2 separate regions of the Homo sapiens genome follow, and region 1 is linked to region 2. The links are contacts of gene promoters, found by promoter capture Hi-C in blood cells and fetal thymus (Javierre and others, 2016). All regions are on one chromosome and are shown on one strand. The core of a region is centred on a gene start or on the middle of the fragment in contact, and the rest is flanking DNA. Distances in the headings are between cores, read along the strand shown. Region 1 overlaps INPP4B (inositol polyphosphate-4-phosphatase type II B). Region 2 holds the start of INPP4B (inositol polyphosphate-4-phosphatase type II B).

The links. The method cuts DNA at HindIII sites, captures the fragments that hold promoters and counts their contacts. A CHiCAGO score of 5 or more calls a contact.
Region 1: a fragment that was not itself captured here is called in contact with the fragment with the promoter of INPP4B in region 2 in 1 of 17 cell types (non-activated CD4 T cells); the score reaches 6.8 in non-activated CD4 T cells.

Annotation. Positions count from the first base shown.
Region 1 is chr4:142,228,787-142,231,695 of GRCh38, reverse strand. The region is part of intron 12 of INPP4B (inositol polyphosphate-4-phosphatase type II B); the gene reads left to right. Among named protein-coding and RNA genes, the nearest start is that of IL15, 590 kb to the right of the region's middle. The HindIII fragment of the contact is 6,725 bases long and covers 1-2,909 here.
Region 2 is chr4:142,844,830-142,847,748 of GRCh38, reverse strand. INPP4B (inositol polyphosphate-4-phosphatase type II B) reads left to right here and starts at 1,448. Exons shown (of 26, transcript NM_001101669.3): 1 at 1,448-1,540. The region is part of intron 3 of USP38-DT (USP38 divergent transcript); the gene reads left to right. RefSeq lists an enhancer at 105-691. The HindIII fragment of the contact is 4,051 bases long and covers 1-2,919 here.

The DNA of each region.
Region 1 (2,909 bases), core at 123-2,622, 620 kb after region 2:
GAAAAGGGAGAATTTAAAAGGCTGCTATGATTGATATCAATTTTTTCACCTCACAGATAAAGATTTCTTGAATTTTTACTGTGGATTTACTTGTGAAGGAAAATAGCAAAGGAATAGAATTAAGAAAATGTTATATAGAAACGTCTAAATATATAGTCAAACTATATATTACAAACAAGATATTATTAGTGGTTTCATAATTTTTTTAAATCAGCGAGAATGAAATCCCACTCATAACATTAAAGTATATTATTAACTTTCACACATCTAAAGTTGGTGTATACCTGAAAGCATAAGTCCGTGTGAGTCTTGTTTGCAGAAATCACGTATATGTGCACTGTTTGCTTATTTGTGTAAAGCATACACATATGTAAAATTGAGAATGGAGGAAGTTATTCTTTGCAGCCAATCCTGACATTGAGTGGAAATGTTGGCAGGGACATAACGGCGCAGCAACTGCTTTTGCATCACTTGCACATAGTGTCTGTCTTGCCTGCAGCTGCCATCAAAAAACACACTTGCTGTTAGTCTCTTAGTCTCACAGTTAGTGTGACATTTGGACTCAACATGAACTGTTTTTATTAAATTTGAGATGGTACATACACAAAGTCTCAGGGTTGTGATACACTTTAAATCCTTTGGGGGCTCCCTTCAATTGGCTTAAGCATTAACACCTTCTGAATTCAAGTTTGAAACATAGCAGTTTTTGAATTGGCGGTGAAGTGTTCTCATAACACTATACTTTTTTAATATTATGGTTTAGTTCCAAAAAAATTCACAAGGAGGAAATGTTAGATATCTCTCAAGTTGTTTACTGCTGTGAAGAAAGGCTCATATGGGGGCTTAGTAATTTTCTGATTCTTTGCTCCTGCAGCCACAGTTACAGATATATAAAATGTATATTGAGTTTTTGCCATGAAAATAATACATGCTCACTATGTGAAATAGTAAAAATATAGAAAATTTATAAAAGAGAAAAGATAAAATCACTTCAAATCCACACCAAGGAAGGCAATTTTGTTTTTCTTTTCTTTTTTTTTTTTTTTTTTTTTGAGGTGGAGTTTTACTACTGTTGCCCAGGCTGGAGTGCAATGGTGTGATCTCGGCTCACCAAAACCTCGCCTCCTGGGTTCAAGTGTTTCTCCTACCTCAACCTCCAAGTAGCCGGAATTACAGGCAAGCGCCACCACGTGCAGATAATTTTGTATTTTTAGTGGAGATGGAGTTTCTCCATGTTGGTCAGGCTGTTCTCGAACTCCCCACCTCAGGTGATCCACCTGCCTCAGCCTCCCAAAGTGCTGGGATTACAGATGTGAGCCACCGCTCCCGGCCTTGTTTTTATTTTCTACATCTACTGTCATCTTCATGAGCCTCGCTGTGGTAGAGAGAGGTTTGTTTCCTGTGACCATCACTCTCTGTTATCATCCTTAATTTTTCCTGCACATCTGAGTTATATTAGGTATACATCTGTGATTCTTTGTATAATGTTAAATAAAACTATAGGCTACTAATCAGTTAAAAATATTTTAATTTAATACATTAAAAAGACTAGAAGGAAGTATACTAACATATGAACAATGGTTATTTCTTGGTGATGGATTTAGAGTAGTAATTTGTTTCACAGAAAAATAAAATGAATACACGAACCCTTACAAGTAGTCTAGGCTATTTAGACTTGCCAGTTAGTGGTACCTTGGTTTCTTCTAGTTTAAATAGCTTACTTCCCATCTAAATATCAAAGTCTGTTCAAAATTTAGCTTCTCCTCAGGCTTGGTTTAAAAAGTTTGGATGACTCTATCTTTTTAGAAAAATTAGCAGTAATTTAGAATTTTACTTTCCTTCTTCCCTATCCCCCCAAAAATATACAGGTAAATGAGGTCAGCTTACTATGTCTTCATAGCATCAGTAACAAAGGGATTCTTGATTCCTTGTAGTATTATTTGGATGCCTAGGAGTTTCTATTATGGGATGACCGATAATCATGGAGATGCATTAGCTTCATCTGGCTTTTGAGTGATATTCTGGCATCTCTATTTGTACTTCCTTGCATCTGATCTTGAGGTGCCTGCACTTGAGAGTTGCTTGGTCCTGATCATATGCCTCTATCAAAACATTGGCATTTTCAGGACTTCCGTAAGCCCTCAATGGGATGTGTATAATCTTTTAGATTTCTTATACACCATTCACCGGCCATGTGGAAAGCAGGGCGGTATTCATCTACCTACCACCTTCCACTATCAGTACCACAAATGGCTTATCTATCATCTTGAATAAGGCACCATTGTCAAAGCCTTATATAGTTCATGTATTAATAGTGCTGTATATTTTATATAGGAATCTAAATACTTTATTGAGAATCACACTATGCTTCATTTTATAACTTTATTTTTCCCCGTTTATCATGTATATTCTGACATCCTTCACAAATGGTTCCCTACAGTATGATTTGTAATGGTCATATGATGTTCTGTCATAGAACTGCTCCATAAGGGAAATATAAATTGTTGCTTAAATTTATATTATACATCAATATATATTAAACATATTATATAAATAAATTAAATGTAGAAAACCTTATAAATACATATTCGTGTACATCTTCAGTATTCTCTAGGTTTAAATACAATAAGTGAAATTACTGAGACAAAGTGTGTATGTATTTTAGGGCCTTGGTTTTATATTTCAGCTTGCCTCTAAAAAGTTTGCATCAATTTTACTTCCATCAATTACATAGGCAAAACTTAAACTCTTATTACTTTTTAAAATTATAGTTTTTGATTACCTGTGTGGTTGAACATTTATCTATATATTTATTACAAATATCCACACAAATACACATAAATGCTTATGTGGAAACTGGGATATTCCTATTTTTCCTTTTGACTTACAAGAGCTACTTGTATATTTAG
Region 2 (2,919 bases), core at 199-2,698:
TGAAAGGATGCCTAGATGCGGGCAGTGACAGCAGGGGTGACAGCTGGGGGTACATACAGCTTCCTGGTTTGTGAAACTGTTAAGCCCCGACTTAACCCAAATTGATTTCACTGTCCTGACTTTGAGATTCCAGTCTTTTTGCATGGCAAATGTAACACTTGTGTACAAGCATTCGTACACTGCTTTACTTAAAATGTGATTTTAAAGCGCCCTCAGGGAGAAGGGCTGGGGTGTCTTGATGGGCTGGCTCTGGGCACCTTTACCTTTGAACGGCTCCATCAAAACCTTTCCGAGAGAGCCGCCAGGTGGCACCTGTAAAGCGCAGATGGGGAGAGTCATTTGCCCCACACCCTACACAGCCCGGAATAACCAGGGTGCGTGCTTTCCCCTGTGGGCTTGTTAGGGGCTAGGAAGTGGGGGAGTTTTAGTCTCCGTCCAGACTGCTTGCTTACATACCCCGTTTTCCTGATACCCCAACACATTCAGGGCGGATTTGTCCCCACGCACCCGGGATATCAAAGGCATGTCATACGCTAGTTGGGAGCATCTCGGCCTCAGTCACCCGCCGCGACGTGGGAACTGGCGGTGGGTGGCCGAGGGCTGCTCTAAGCTGGTCTCCTCAGCCCGACCTCTGCCCGGGGCAAGGGGGAGGAGGGGCAAGAGACAGGGGTCCCAGCGCGGCTGCAGACTGGGGTCCAGCAGGCGTGAATGGATGCCTAGACGCAGGCAGTGACAGCAGGGATCCCAAGCCCCTTCCAAAAACCCTCGGTCTAGGGACTGCGCTGCCATAGGCCGGGGTCTGGGGCGCTTTCTTCCTCCCGCGGGTTCTTTCTCTGTGGTTTCTCCTGCCCCCGCAGCAGCGTGGCGGCCTCGGGTCCCCCCTCGTCGCGGTAGCGGTGATCCCACAGCCCAGTCTGGGTGGGCGACCCAGCGGGCAGAGGGGCCGCAGAAAGGGGTCGGGGTACGGGGTGTGAGCACACGGAGCCAGCGTGGTAATTTCGGGGTGGGCAGCCGGGCCACCATCTCCGCTCTATCAGTAGCGGGAAGCGAGCAGCGCCAGTTGCGCGACTGTCGCTGCCACGGCCGCCTCTACTCGGTCGCTGGTGACATTGGGAGGAGACCGCTTGGAGAGAGCAGAGGAGGAGGAAGAGGAGCGGGGAGGGTGGGGGTTGGGGTGGAAGAAAGTAGCAATTGTGCCAGGGGGCGTGTGAGCAGCCGGAGAGCCAGCCGCGCTGGTGACAACTTCTCTGGGGCGCGCGCGGGGCTGGTAGGCGAGGAGCGAGCAGGGAGCGCGGCCGAAGCCAGAGGCTGGGGGAGCTGCTGGAGCCTCGCGAAGCCGCGGCCGGCGCCCTGCGCCGTCGCCGCCGCCTGCTAGTTTCCTCCGGGTTCTCAGCCCCGGGTACTGAGGCTTCGGTCTATAAATAGCAGGTTACAGCTCCTCCTGGGCGCGCACACGCTCACACGCTCGCAAGCGAACGCAGGAAAGTCAGGCTAAAAGTGTCTGCTGCTGCTGCCGCCCCCCACTCCGCCTCCGGGAGAGGTAATTACCCGCCTGGGATCCTAGGGCTCGGTGGGGGAATTTTGCAGGGTGGGGTGGTTGATGGTGGGTAATCCGGGAGGCGAGGGAGCGTGTCTGAGAGCGTGGCGGCACGTCTTGGAGGGGGGAGCCTGTCTGTTTTGCATCAAGTTTCTCCGTCTTGCAGCCTCCATCACCCCTCCAGCTCTTTAGCTTAAAGGGTGGGGTGGGCTGTCTCTCCTCGGCTGCTGGGGTACCCCTGTCACCGCGCCTACCCTCTCGCCGAGCGCCCCTCTGCCCGGCGCGCGCGCGTTTTCGCATTCTCACTCACACACGCACACTCTCCGGGCCCCCGTGGAACTCTGAGCTCTGGCCTCGCTGACCTTCCAAGGCTGCGCCCACCTGCGCTGTCCCTGAGAGACGCTGAGGTTGGCCCGGGCACTCGCTCTCACTTCCAATCCTGATGATCGCAAGCTGCCGCCGCCGCCGCCGCCGCCGCCGCCGGCCTGGGAAGAAGTCCTTAAGGAATAGAGGCAGTGGTGGGGAGTGAGGGTGACTGATGTTGGTGGTCCCGGTTGCCTTGTTTTTTGTTTTAAAAATAAAGAGCCCATCTCCTTGACCACCTTCATCCCACCCTCAACAACTCATTCTGGCAGAGAAGCCTGGCATGTCTTCTCTCGGCCATCAGGCAGCATCTCTTGTCCTTCCCCAAAGAGGTCTCGCTGAGAGGTTAGGGCCTTGGCGCAAGAGTGCCTGGGTTTGGACGGGGGAGGTCATTGTTTCGGGTCTGAGAACTATGCTGCAGGCTCCTCAAGCTCTCTGGCGCTCAGGCAGGGCCCAGGGCCGGGGAATGTCTGGGAGCCTGGTTCCTGAATGTAGTTTCAGGCTGGTAGCTGATATGAAGATGAGGATGCTAGAACCACATATACCTGTTTTTCCCCCTCCCCACGCTTCTGAATTCTCCCTTCCTTGGGGGCAGTAGTTTCTGCTCCTGGGGAGTCGGTGGAGAGGGGCCCAGCAGTTTCTCTTTGGGGACAAGAGGGTGAGGAAGCACATATTGATTAGGTTGTTGCTGCTGCTGCACAAAACTTACTGGAAAAACCCGGTAGGGTTTTCTATTACTCTTGTTTTAAGGATGTAAATTTACTCCTTTTCCTCTTTTATCTTCTCCCTAACCAGAACTAGTTTTCCTTTCTCTTTCTGGAATGTTATTTGAGGTCATTATATTTTATGACTCCAGATGTTACATTTTGCATATCTCCTTCCTGTCAGTATGACAGACAGAACTTGTTTATAAAGGTGTGGCTCTGTAAGTAAAAGCCTAAAGACAGAGGATAAATTCATCTTCTCTCTCTCAAGATGAGCTCCAGATAGTTCTTTTATAGGTGTACAACTACATTTCA